Linked DNA regions of Homo sapiens: regions 2 and 3 are each linked to region 1. Evidence: promoter capture Hi-C in human tissues and cell types (Jung and others, 2019). All regions are on one chromosome and are shown on one strand. The core of a region is centred on a gene start or on the middle of the fragment in contact, and the rest is flanking DNA. Distances in the headings are between cores, read along the strand shown. Region 1 holds the start of TBX4 (T-box transcription factor 4). Region 2 has its middle 84 kb from the start of NACA2. Region 3 has its middle 8.2 kb from the start of NACA2.

The links. Contacts are between HindIII fragments. The study calls those that stand out against the background at their distance.
Region 2: a fragment that was not itself captured here is called in contact with the fragment with the promoter of TBX4 in region 1 in 2 of the 25 tissues and cell types used here (bladder and heart right ventricle).
Region 3: a contact is called between a fragment that was not itself captured here and the fragment with the promoter of TBX4 in region 1, in 2 of the 25 tissues and cell types used here (IMR-90 fibroblasts and dorsolateral prefrontal cortex).

What each region holds. Positions count from the first base shown.
Region 1 is chr17:61,449,821-61,454,510 of GRCh38, forward strand. TBX4 (T-box transcription factor 4) reads left to right here and starts at 2,602. Exons shown (of 9, transcript NM_001321120.2): 1 at 2,602-2,757. LOC124904042 (a long non-coding RNA gene) reads right to left here. Exons shown (of 2, transcript XR_007065872.1): 2 at 3,422-4,690. RefSeq lists enhancers at 2,572-3,413, 4,214-4,690. The HindIII fragment of the contact is 13,471 bases long and covers 1-4,690 here.
Region 2 is chr17:61,672,431-61,677,120 of GRCh38, forward strand. No RefSeq gene overlaps it. Among named protein-coding and RNA genes, the nearest start is that of NACA2, 84 kb to the left of the region's middle. The HindIII fragment of the contact is 4,606 bases long and covers 36-4,641 here.
Region 3 is chr17:61,597,044-61,601,733 of GRCh38, forward strand. No RefSeq gene overlaps it. Among named protein-coding and RNA genes, the nearest start is that of NACA2, 8.2 kb to the left of the region's middle. The HindIII fragment of the contact is 4,338 bases long and covers 1-4,283 here.

The DNA.
Region 1 (4,690 bases), core at 1,352-3,851:
CAAAACCAAGGTGAGCCTGCTACCAAACCTGAGCACTTTCCCCCAAGCCAACCCAAATCAGTGTGACCGATGTGTGGCACCGTCAGTTATTTGTTTAGCTAGTTGAGGAGGGTTTTCATATTTTGAACTCCTCAAAGTAGTTTTGGAGAAAAAAAAATTGGTCTTCTCCTCTTCTACACAGGCTCTTTTTCAGCAAATACTATGCAGCATCCATTATAAGCTTTTCTATTATTTTACATACGACTAAGAAGAAAAAACGCTGCTAATTAAGCTATGACACACCGCTAGCTATCAGATGCATCTCAGTTTCAGAGATACCAGAATGTGAAAAATGTGTGTCTTAGAGTCAGTTAAATGAGGTATTCCATTCTAATAATGGGGAATGTGCATACAGAACCGCTCTCATTTACTCACTTGCTGGCTGGTTTGCCCCTTCCTTTTTACTGCCAAAAGCTTACCTGTCCCTTCCATATCTCATTTCTCCATGTCATCATGAACCTGTTGATATTAATTTAGACTGTCTGCCATCAGTCTCCAGAAAGCCTTGCACTTATAGGAAGGTTCCAGTCTAGTTTGTTTGTTTTTGTTTGTTTGTTTTATTAAAGAACTATACGATACGATCTCAGTATGAACTTCCTCCAATGACTGTCAACAAATTCTTTCCAGAGTCTGGCCTAGCTCTAGTCTTCCCATAGTACCTGGTGATTCACTGCCCTCCCTGTTCACCATTCCACACAGTAGTTGGTTGCTTAGTCTGTATACTATTTATTTGCAAGGGATTTCCCTACAGGCTGTTGGAGAGGTCATGGGAGGGGGCTTGCGAGCAGAAGCTGAGGCATGTCATCCAGGTCTCCCTAACACAGGAAACACGACTCCCCAGGCATCTCCTGAAACGCCAGGGCCTTCCCTTTCTCCATTCCAGGAGTCCGCAGGTTTGGGGAAGGATTCTGCTCCTCCACTCCTCTTAGATATTATTTCCCCTCCCTGGTTTGAGACTCCATGAGAGGAATGGTGATAGGGTGGTGGGACCTGGTACTGCAATGGTGATAGGGACTTGAGCAGCGGCCCACTGTTGAGGTGGATTTCAGGCTCCTGACAGCAGCAGCGACTGGCTTTTCTGAGTTGGCGTTTTTGCTTCCACCTTTGAGTGCAGGGTGGTAAAGAAGGCATTGATGCTGGCTTTCCATTTCCTAGCATTAGAACAGGGACAGACCCATCCAGGAAAAGAATTTCCCTGTCCTCTCCCCTTCAAGCTGATTTTGAGGTCAGAATCTGGAAAGGGACAGAGGCTGGTTGAGGACACTGGTGGAGGGAGGGATGCAGCCCATGCTAAGCACTAAGGGACCACTCTGGGGATCCTTATTGATGAGGATTCTGCTGTCTTTGCAGATGGGTGGGCAGGCCTATTTCTGCCCCAGGATTCTGGGCATGTGACAGGCGGGGAGGCTGGGGCACGGGCTGGGGTCCGCATGGGTCCGTCTGCTAGTGGAAAGGCAGCGTCCTGTGGGAGGTACAGACAGAGAGAAACAGAGGTAAGTGGAGACAGAGAGCTCAGAGGCTGGGCAGGGAGGTCTAGGTGCTGAGCGGGACTCCGTTTCTGAGGCGGAAAGAACCGGGTGGCTGGGAGCAGGACGCTCCCCAGTCTCCACTTCCTAGACTAGGGCAGGCATTGGGCTTCCTCTTCAGCTCTCCAGGATCTCAAGGAGCTGCCGCGGAATCCTGGCCCTGGGCCGCAGTTTCCCCAGGAGGCTCTGCCAAGCCTGGCACCTTGCAGCCCGGCCTGGGCTCTGTCAAGGCCCGAGCCGGACTCGGCTCCACTCAGAGGCCGGCCCAGCACTTCCCTGCCGCCGCCGCCCCGCACCCGGCCACCGGGCTTCCTCCCAGTCCTCACCCCTGACCTCCGCGGCCGACTTCGAGGCGCGCCAGGCCGGGTCCAGCGCCCGCGGCCCCCTGGGCCGGGACAAGGAGGGCGGGTGAGCAGAAGGGCCGTGCCCAGGGCCTGGAAGTGCAAGGCCGCGTGGTGGGCATGGTAGGGAAGCGGAGCGTGGGCCTGTGAGGCGCGTGTGCGCCTGCGACCTCGGGACCGGGGCTCCCAAATGAACAGCGCGCACAGCTGGGAGCAGGGCTTGGGGAGCGGGGCTCTGCGGCCGGGGATCCGTAGAAGCCGCTGCCTGGAAGCGGGCGCCGGCAGGGGGTGGCCAGACCCGGTCGTGGAGCGTCCTAGTCTTCGGGCACGGCGGGGCCAGGCGAGCCCTCCTGGTTGTCGAGCCTCGGCTGAGAGCCGGGCTGCTCGCCCTTGCTTCCCGCCTCTCTAATCTAAACCATGCGGGGCTCCCAGCCCCTACCCGGCTCGCGGGGCCCGAGGGCCAAGAGGAGGGCACTGGGCCGCGCGGTGGAGGAGCCGGCGGCTCGCGTGGGGCTCGGGATCTTGGGGACCGCGACGCCGGGGAACCCTGGAGCCCCCCTCCCCGGGGGACAGCGGGCGCAGACTGATTGACAGCGGCGACGTCAGCGCGGAGGGGGGGCGGCCCCAGAGGGAGGGAGGGAGGAGGAGGGAATTGAGGCCCCAAAGTGCAGCCTTGGAGATCAAGGGCCCGCTCCAGAGCCGGGATGTGTCCAGCCCCGAGGGCACGGCAGGCAGCTGGACCCTGACCCAGCGGCGCGGAGTCGGAGCCCCGGCCGTCCCGCGCTCCTCGGACCCGAACCTGCAGGGGACCTCGGGCCGCTGGCGCCTCCGCATGCGGCACCGCAATTAGGGTGAGTGTGGGTTCCAGCCGAGTGGGGACGAGCTGGGCGTGCGGGGCTGGGGCCACAGGGGCTCAGGGTTAGGCTGCGGGGACGGACAGGAGGATGAGCTGGAAAGGGGTGAGTCACGCGACCCGGGGAAGAACTTCAGGGGCGGTCAAAGTTGCAGGAAGGCGGCGCGAAGTGCCTTGGGTCGGGCCGCCGCCTCGGCCCGACACCCAGTAGTTGGGGCACGAGCCCTCCTCTCTGAGTAACGCGATGAATTGGGTCTAGAGATCCAAGAGCATAGAAATATCGACAGCGCCAGCACCCTAAGAACAAGGCCGTGACAGGCGGAGCGGTGGCCTGGAAATTGGTGTTTGCAGAATATGCAAGGCCAAGGAAGAGGGCCCCGGTACTGGAGCGAAAATCCGTGTAGATATGTGAGTGATCAGAACACTAGACTCAGAGCCTTTGATGCAATAGACTAGTCAAAATTAAAGCAAGGAACATTATATATAAATAATGATCGATGATTAAAGATTATTGGAATGTGAACAATTACCAAAGAAAGGGCTAATCGGCATAACTGATATAACACGTGAACTTCCAAATAATACAATCATAGTCACTTTCAGAATCAAGTGAAAATAGTAATCACAATTTTTAAAAGGATTAAAGACAAAGTAATTCTAAATAGAGGAACAATGTAAGGACTGTTTATTAAAACCAATTGCACTAATATAACATATAGTAATAGTGTAACAAATTACCAAACTGTAGGAAACTAGCAAACGAACTGTAGGAGAAAGATGAACAATGAAAATACTATTAAGGGAAATACTATTAGTGGTAGTGATATAATAATATAATGTATTATTGATACTACAGTGAACTATTAAAAGAAATATTAACTAAAATCTTAGGAGCAATAGTAATATAAATAAAGACATATTAACAAGAATTGCTGGAGTAATATGACAATTTATGACCAATGTATTAATAGTCACAAGAACATTATAAATAATGGTTGAGTAATAAGAAGTATTGTACCAATGTGATGAAAAATAATCAGAGTATTAAGAGCTACAACAATATTACAAAGTATGACAAAATAACAAGAAGTAATGATGTGATGAGTAACTAGCGAGTTCAGATCTGTAACATTACAAATAATGACAAAGTAACAAGATACTGTCGGGGTGTGTTGAAGAATAATACCTGGAGTGTTATGAGCAAGCCTAACAAAACAAATTGTGGTTAGATAACAAGAAGTATTATAAGGATGTGAGGGAAATTAACATGAATTTTGAGAACAATTATATAACAAGTTATGGTAAACAAGAAGTTATTGAAACAGCGTGACAAAGTATAATCAAAATGAAGAGCAAGCAACGGAAACGTATTAGGGATACAAAGCAAGAATAAAAAATTACAATAGATTAACGTGACCTATTGTTCACTATGTCACCTCGATATTGGAAATAGTATTATGAATGTGCCAGGCGGCCCTGAAATGATGGAACAGTGACAGGAAAACAACAAATTTAGTAACAGTAAGCTAACGAATCAAAGCAGGGCTTTAACCATACAGTATTAAAGATACAAAGTAGTAATAATCCACGCGATAGGATATTCTCAAAGTTCCCGAACTGATCAAAATACTACTATGGTAATAAGGACAATTAAAATATTTTAAAAAGCACGAAATAGTAACAGTTCCCCTAGTGCAAGAAACATATCCCCAGTAACCTAAAAATGAAAAGAGAAATGCTGTCGTCTTTGGAAAACGAGGCAGCTGAAAGCAACAGACCCCATCGCAAAGGCAGCGGAGGTTGCGGGCCGCACCCGCGGAGGAGTGGATGTGAAGGACGAGAGCGGACCGCTATGCGGTGCTGAGTGCGGGACCCCGCGGTGCTGGCGGCGGCCGAGCGCGCCCAAGCTCGAGGTCCGAGAGGACCGCGAG
Region 2 (4,690 bases), core at 1,089-3,588, 220 kb after region 1:
TTCTTATTATCCCCATTTTAAGATGAAAAAACAGAAGTTCAGAGAGATTAAATAACTTGCCCAAAGTAAGTTGGCAGGTGGAGCTGGAACATATTTCCATGTCTAATGGTAACAAAATTCATGTATATTGCCAATCAACTTTAAAGACAAATATAGAAATATTAATATATCAACTTACTTTATTGTAATTTTTATTTTTAAAATGTTTTAAAGAGATGGGATCTCGCTACATTGCCCAGATAGTGCACTGCACCCTCGATCTCCTGAACTCAGGCAATCCTCATGCCTCAGCCTCCTAAGTAGCTGGGACTACAGGTGTGTGCCACTGTGCCCAGCTTTACTTTATTGTAATGTATATTAGGTGAGCTTATAATCTAAATAATTCCTTAGTTTAAGGTTATGCCTATCTCCAACAATGATACTAAAAAATGGTACAAAATAAGCTTTTATAGTTCCTACTTGCTCCTGCTTTAGGTAATAATTCAACTCCATAAGCAATACCATAAAGTGCTGACTAGCAAGGCAGGTCCGTGGGTGCTTTCACAACAGATAAAAAAGATTAACATTTTGAAAGGATAGTTAACTTTAAATATGAATACCATAACATCAGTTAGACAAACAGGGAAGAAGATGGCCGAATAGGAACAGCTCTGGTCTGCAGCTCCCAGCGTGATCAATGGAAAAGACAGGCGATTTCTGCATTTCCAACTGAGGTACCTGGTTCATCTCATTTGGACTGGTTGGACAGTGGGTACAGCTCACAGAGGGCGAGCCGAAGCAGGGTGGGGCATTGCCTCACCCAGGAAGCACAAGGGGTTGGGAGATTTCACTTTCCTAGCCAAGGGAAGCCGTGACAGACTGTACCTGGAAAAAACAGGACACTCCCACCCAAATACTGTGCTTTTCCCACAGTCTTAGCAACCGGCAGACCAGGAGATTATCTCCTGTGCCTGGCTTGGCAGGTCCCATGCCCACGGAGCCTTGCTCACTGCTAGAGCAGCAGTCTGAGATCAACCTGCAAGGCTGCAGCCTGGCTAGGGGAGGGGCATCCGCCATTGCTGAGGCTTGAGTAGGTAAACAAAGTGGCCAGGAAGCTCAAACTGGGTGGAGCCCACTGCAGCCCAGCAAGGCCTGCTGCCTCTGTAGACCCTACCTCTGTGGGCAGGGCATAGCTGAACAAAAGGCAGCAGAAACTTCTGCAGACTTAAACATCCCTGTCTGACAGCTCTGAAGAGAGCAGTGGATCTCCCAGCACGGCGTTTGAGCTCTGAGAACGGACAGACTGCTTCCTCAAGTGGGTCCCTGACCCCCGTTTAGCCTAACTGGGAGACACCTCCCAGTAGGGGCCGACAGACACCTCATACAGGCAGATGCCCCTCTGGGACGAAGCTTCCAGAGGAAGGATCAGGCAGCAATATTTGCTGTTCTGCAGCCTCCGCTGGTGATACCCAGGCAAACAGGGTCTGGAGGGGACCTCCAGCAAACTCCAACAGACCTGCAGCTGAGGGACCTGACTGTTAGAAGGAAAACTAACAAAACATAAAGGAATAGCATCAACATCAACAAAAAGGACATCCACACCAAAAGCCCATCTGTAGGTCACCAACATCAAAGACCAAAGATAGATAAAACCACAAAGAAGGGGAGAAACCAGAGCAGAAAAGCTGAATATTCTAAAAACCAGAGTGCTGCTTCTCCTCCAAAAGATCGCAGCTCCTCACCAGCAATGGAACAAAGCTGGACGGAGAATGACTTTGACGAGTTGACAGAAATAGGCTTCAGAAGGTCGGTAATAACAAACTTCTCTGAGCTAAAGAAGCATGTTCTAACCCATCACAAGAAAGCTAAAAACCTTGAAAAAGGGTTAGACGAATGGCTAACTAGAATAAACAGTGTAGAGAAGACCTTAAATGACCTGATGGAGCTGAAAACCATGGCATGAGAACTTCGTGACGCATGCACAAGCTTCAACAGCTGATTTGATCAAGTGGAAGAAAGGGTATCAGTGATTGAAGATCAAATTAATGAAATAAAGCAAGAAGACAAGATTAAAGAGAGTAAAAAGAAACGAACAAAGCCTCCAAGAAATATGGGACTATGTGAAAAGACCAAATCTACGTTTGATTGGTGTACCTGAAAGTGACGGGGAGAATGGAACCAAGTTGGAAAACACTCTTCAGGATATTACCCAGGAGAACTTCCCCAACATAGCAAGGCAGGCCAACATTCAAATTCAGGAAATACAGAGAACACCACAAAGATACTCCTTGAGAACAGCAACCCCAAAACACATAATTTTCAGATTCACCAAGGTTGAAATGAAGGAAAAGATGTTAAGGGCAGCCAGAGAGAAAGGTCAGGTTACCCACAAAGGGAAACCCATCAGACTAACAGCAGATCTCTCGGCAGAAACCCTACAAGTCAGAAGAGAGTGGAAGCCAATATGCAACATTCTTAAAGAAAAGAATTTTCAACCCAGAATTTCATATCCAGTCAAACTAAGCTTTATAAGTGAAGGAGAAATAAAATCCTTTACGAACAACCAAATGCTGAGAGATTCTGTCACCACCAGGTTTGCCTTACAATAGCTCCTGAAGGAAGCACTAAACATGGTACAACCAGTACCAGCTACTGCAAAAACATGCCAAATTGTAAAGACCATCAATGCTATGAAGAAACTGCAACAATTAGTGGGCAAAATAACCAGCTAACATCATAATGACAGGATCAAATTCACACATAATAATATTAACCTTAAATGTAAATGGGCTAAATGCCCCAATTAAAAGATACAGACTGGCAAATTGGATAAAAAGTCAAGACCCATCAGTGTGCTATATTCAGGAGACCCATCTCACGTGCACACATAGGCTCAAAATAAAGGGATGGAGGAAGATCTGTCAAGCAAATGGAAAGCCAAAAAAAGCAGGGGTTGCAATCCTAGGCTCTGATAAAACAGAATTTAAACCAACAAAGATCAAAAGAGACAAGGTCATTACATAATGGTAAAGGGAACAATTCAACAAGAAGAGCTAACTATCCTAAATATATATGCATCCAATACAGGAGCACCCAGATTCACAAAGCAAGTCCTTAGAGACTTACAAAGAGACTTAGATTCCCACACAATAATAATGGGAGACTTTAACACCCCACTGTCAATATTAGACAGATCAACAAGACAGAAGGTTAACAAGGATATCCAGGACTTGAACTCAGCTCTGCACCAAGTGGACCTAATAGAAATCTACAGAACTCTCCACCCCAAATCAACAGAATATACATTCTTCTCAGCACCACATCGCACTTATTCCAAAACTGACCACATAATTGGAAGTAAAGCACTCCTCAGCAAATATAAAAGAACAGAAATCACAACAAACTGTCTCTCAGACCACAGTACAATCCAATTAGAACTCAGGATTAAGAAACTCACTCAAAACCACACAACTATATGGAAACTGAACAACCTGCTCCTGAATGACTACTGGGTAAATAACAAAACGAAAGCAGGAATAAAGATGTTCTTTGAAACCAATGAGAACAAAGACACCACGTACCAGAATCTCTCAGTGTGTAGAGGGAAATTTATAGCACTAAATGCCCATAAGAGAAAGCAGGAAAGATCTAAAATTGACACCCTAACATCACAATTAAAAGAACTAGAGAAGCAAGAGCAAACAAATTCAAAAGCTAGCAGAAGGCAAGAAATAACTAAGATCAGAGCAGAATTAAAGGAGATAGAGACACAAAAAACCCTTCAAAATAAGTCAGTGAATCCAGAGCTGGTTTTTGAAAAGATCAACAAAATTGATAGACCACTAGCGAGACTAATAAAGAAGAAAAGAAAGAAGAATCAAATAGATGCAGTAAAAAATGATAAAGGGGATTTCACCACCGATCCCACAGAAATACAAACTACCATCAGAGACTACTATAAACACCTCTATGCAAATAAACTAGAAAATCTAGAAGAAATGGATAAATTCCTCGACACATACACCCTCCCAAGACTAAACCAGGAAGGTGAATCTCTGAATAGACCAATAACAGGTTCTGAAATTGAGGCAATAATTAATAGCCTGCCAACCAAAAAAAGTCCAAGACCAGAGAGATTCACAGCCAAATTCAACCAGAGGTACAAAGAGGAGCTGGTACCATTTCTTCTCTAACTATTCCAATCAATAGAAAAAGAGGGAATCCTCCCTAATTCATTTTATGAGGCCAGCATCATCCTGACACCAAAGCCTGGCAGAGACACAACCAAAAAAGAGACCAATATTAAGTAGGAATTTTCCCTATTTAATAAATGGTGCTGGGAAAACTGGCTAGCCATATGTAGAAAGCTGAAACTGGATCCCTTCCTTATACCTTACACCAAAATTAATTCAAGATGGATTGAAGACTTAAATATTAGACCTACAACCATAAAAACACTAGAAGAAAACCTAGGCAATACCATTTAGGACATAGGCATGGGCAAAGACTTCATGACCACAACACCAAAAGCAATGGCAACAAAAGCCAAAATTGATAAATGGGATCTAATTAAACTAAAGAGCTTCTGCACAGCAAAAGAAACTACCATCAGAGTGAACAGGCAACCTACAGAATGGGAGAAAATTTTTGCAATCTACCCATCTGATAAAGGGCTAATATCCAGAATCTACAAAGAACTTAAACAAATTTA
Region 3 (4,690 bases), core at 865-3,364, 150 kb after region 1:
AGACTTTTTTTGAAAATATTTTATAATCTGTTAAGATTCAACAACATCAGGGAAAAAAAGATCTCAAAAGCGCTATGCTTTACTCAATTTCAGATAATTATGTTAAAAATTGTTTAGAACTACAATCAGAGGAAGGTTCTAACTAATTTTTAACAAAATAAAGTCCAACAAGTAGAATTCCATAGAACTGGCTCATTGGCATTTAGCATATGTTAAGAGACAGAATTGTTTTATTTGAAATTGTCATATTTCACCATCCTCAACATTAGGTGAATTTTTTTTAAAGTTTCAGTGATCCCAAATGAATTTCTGATTTTCAGTAGAAAATTGCTAAACCTTCATGTTGTCTAGAAAATGTCTCTAATTTGAAATTAAAGATTTTACTAAAAATAAAGAAATAATAAAAAAAAATAGGTTTTTTTTTTTATTTTTTTACCTAAGCTTTCTCTCTTTCATTATTCTTACTTGGCTTGAAAGATGCTGCTTTATGCCCAGCCAAAAATATGAAAGATTCAAATACAAAGCATTTAAGTACTGAGCATATTGCAGTATGTGATGCTGGCCTCACCATCCTATTGGCTCCTATCCACAAGAATTCAAAATGGAAAATGTACCTAATGACGGTTTATGCATAACTTCTGGGAAATCTCTTTAGATTTAATTTTTTAGAATTTAACCCTATTCGTCATTTCATATAAGTGGTCCCAAAGAGATCTCCATAAGTGGCCAGCTTTAATTTGTATGCCTCAGGGGTTCACAGGACTGTAAATGGAAATGAAGGGCTGGCCCTGGTCTCAAAATGACAGCTTGCTTGCTTACAGGCAGGATATGGTAGTTCAAAATTAGCCACAATTATCAGAGTCATGCGTTCTACCTCCTGCTTATTTAGCAACCTGAGTCCCTCAGTCTAAACCTGAAAGGTTATTCTAACTGCATCTGATCAAATATATTAGCTGAATTAGATTTAATCCATTGCCCAACACCAGCTCCTTCCATAGCATTAGACAAATGGTCTAAGTGTCTTTTCTTCCCTACCTGGATAATTAGAGATTATTCTCTTGGGTTCTGTGATGAAATACTAAACTCCTGCTTTTGTTGCCTCTACCCAAGGGCTTAGGGCTTTTTCCTGTGCTCGTGGCTGGGGAAAGTAGCCCTTTCTTTCTCTTGTACTTCCCTTGTGTCTACAGCAACACACCCTTAAATACTTATCTTGTTTGAATGGGAAAAAAATCCTGTACTACTTGTTGAGATTTATACGTAAAAAATAATATAAGGCCACAGTTACAGGTAGGTAAAGTGGCTCCATAATCTAGCTTTTTGTAGTACAGAGAATAAACACAGAGATACCCTGAAACAAGATCTTGTTTCAGGGTATCTCTATTCGGCCACCTGGCTTACTTCTCCAATCAGTCTAATCTAGATAGTTTTCTGATCAGTTTTGAGAAGGAGATAATATTAGTCTAACCCCTTTTACAGATGAGAAAGAATTTATGAGTTAGGCTTTTGTGTCTGACTTATGCTCTTCCCTCTATAGTTATATATTAAAATCCTATTAAAATAATTTAAAGTGAGTTAATATATGTAAAGCATTCAGAGCAGTACCTGTACCTGGTACATGATACTATATAAACATTTGCTCTTATTTTGAGTTTGTTTGTTTGTTTTAAGAAACTGGGTCTCCCTGTGTTGCCCAGGCTGGTCTTGAACTCCTGGCTTCAAGCAATCCTCCTGCCTTGGCCTCCCATTCTAACTCCTTTGTGAAGTCTTCCCTGTTCTCATCTGGCCACTCCTCTCTCTGTATAATCAGGTGCTTTTTGGACTTGTTTTCCATCAACTTACACTGTATTTAATTGCTTCTATTGCTGTCTCCCTCACTAGACAGTAAGCTATTTGAAGGCAAGAACCATGACTGTTCTTTGTATTGTCTTCCTCTTCAGTGCCAATCATATTACTTTCAGGCATTACATCCTTTAAAAAGTGTTCATTGGTTTAGTTGCACTGATGATCTTCAAAACCGGTGGGAAGTTATTCACCAGTGTAGGCTTTGCTCTTAGACCTGCCTACAAATACTAAGAGACGTTAAATTAGTTTCTCTATGGTGTAAATTGGGGTTGTGATAAAATTAAGCAAGTGGCACGGTCAAATGGCAGGGACCAGAAAAAGGGTAATTGCAAAACAGTAATCAAAAATTGCACAAACAATGGGATTAATTTAGATTGGAACTCACTAAAGCAGCAGGCAGACTGAGCCTCAAAATTAGGGACAAGGATCTATACTAGGTAAGGGAATAGGGCAAGCTGAAGCATGGTTCAGACCCCATCCACAGATAGCTGCAATCTTAAGAAGGTATCTGAAATGGCTTCTAAGTGTTGCATTGACAGGTGACTGTGGGATCGGAGATCAAAAGATCACAGTCTCTTAACTAGGACGGATAAGTCTTTCCACATTCGTTTTGTCCCCAACATGTTTGTTAAAAGATCTCAGCTTATTAGAGTAGTTCCCATTTATCCAGGCTCATCTTCACAAATGTACCTTCCAGAGCTGTGTCCAGATAATAGTGCTATGTCTTCAAAGAGGATCACAGATTTAATCATCACTTAATTAGAGAACCAATTCCAATTTTCTAAATACTACAGGATTTTCCACGTTGAATTTGTTCTCTGGAACTCCTAATGGCTGGGCTTTTGACCAGAGTACGAATAGCATTCACCCTTAATGCTCACGAAGTGGAACATTAGATGCCCAGCTCTCTAGATGTTGTTTGGTTGCAGATGGCAGGTCCTTAAGTCTAAAAGTTATCCCTCTCAATGGTGTACCCCTATGCAATAGCACATGCTTCTGACCTCAAATTCCACAGTACTGCTTACTTGGATCAGAGAAGGAAGAAAAGGAAGGGAGAGAGGGAGGACATTGTGTAGGAAGGAAAGTTTAATAATGAGTTTGGTGGGGCAGACAACAGAAAATGCTGTCTAGACTTAGAGGTCGCTGAGAGGCTGAATTTAATAGTTTTGATAATAGGAGAACTAAAGAAGATGTCTTTCAGTCTTTAAGAGAGTTAAAGAGGGCTCTAAGTGCAGAAGGTTAGAAGTACTTGGCTGCCAACCCGTTAGTATGCACTTGGGACTATACTTTATCTTGTCCCAAAATTGATTTTTCATTTGTTGAAGGGTGTGCCCCCCAACAATTGAATTGTTTTCAGCTAGAAAGTCTGCAAAGAGCTCAGGTCCTTGAGTAAAGATGTTTTTTATGTTTCTATCATTTGGACTCTTAACTGTTAAAGAGGGTTAACCAGATATTTGTGTTTGTAAAGTCCAAGAACTCTATTGTCTGAGAAAGGGAGTCATCCTAGACTTCCCCCTCTGTGGTGGGCATCTGATGTTTCTTTGGCTATCTGAAATTCAATCTTCCTCCCTAACATCACCCTAACATTTGGGGGGTGAGGATTTTCTTTACTAAATTTTGAATATTATAAATCGAGATACCTTGTCCTTGCTCTATGAAAGCTGATGGGGCTCTCAGATGCAATTATATCCTCCTTCCATAAGATCTGTAACTCTTATTGTCTTGATTATCAAAAGCCAACCATATGGCTTAAACTCAGCTAGCTGGGAGTGCCTTTTCTGGGACTTCTCTTTAGTTCTCCTATTATCAAAGCAATTGACTTCAGCTTCCCAGTGACCTCTTAAGTCTAGACGGCATTTTCCTGTTTTCTGCCCCACCAAACTCAATATTAAACTTCTTTCCTTCCTACACAAGGTCCTTCCTCCCTCCCACTCGAGTCACAAGTGCAGTGAGACAGGAAAAATCAGTAGGACCTCTTTCATTCCAGTGGCAGTAGCCCAGTGAAAATGTCAATTAGCTCCTACTGACTTGGCCCCTGTCATTTCTAAGCCTAGTTCTCCACCCTTTTGATCAATTTTTTTAGTTGTCCAATATCCTTATTTTTAAAATTCCCTTTTTGTTTAAGCCAGATTTGATTTTTATTATTAGCAACCAAAGAACTCTAATTCAATATCCCTTTTCCCACACATTTTCCTCTTCACTCAGTCCTGTTTATTTTAATTCCAGAACAGATCTTGACTCTATTTTATACAGCTACTTTGACATCACCTCTAAGCCAAGCTTTTTTTTTTTTTTTTTTTTTTCTGAGACAAGTCTGTCACCCAGGCTGGAGTGCAGTGGCGTGATCATAGCTCACTGCAGCCTCCAACTCCTGGGCTTAAGCGATCTTCCCACCTCAACCTCACGAGTAGCTGGGACCATAGGCATGCGTCACCAAACCCGACTAGTTTTTTGTTTCTTGTTTTGTTTTGTTTTGTTTTAGATATGGGATCTCACTATGTTGTCCAAGCTGGTCTTAAACTCCTGGGCTCAAGCAGTCCTCCTGCCTCAGCTTCTCAAAGTGCTGGATTACAACAGGCGTGAGCCACTGCACCTGGCCAAGCTTTTTTTTGATAGGCAATCTTTTCTTACCCAGACCACTGCAAGAGCATTCATGCTTCCACTATTGTCATCCTCAAATCTAATCCATTTTCCATATTGCAAGCACATCGATCTTTTAAAATTCAAATCTAATCATGATATTCTTCAGTCTAAAACTCTTGCTTCCCACTGCTCTTAGAAGAAAATAAAAAATCCTTAAGAAGGCCTGTAACATGTTTCGCAATCTGGCCCTGGTGACCCCTCCAGC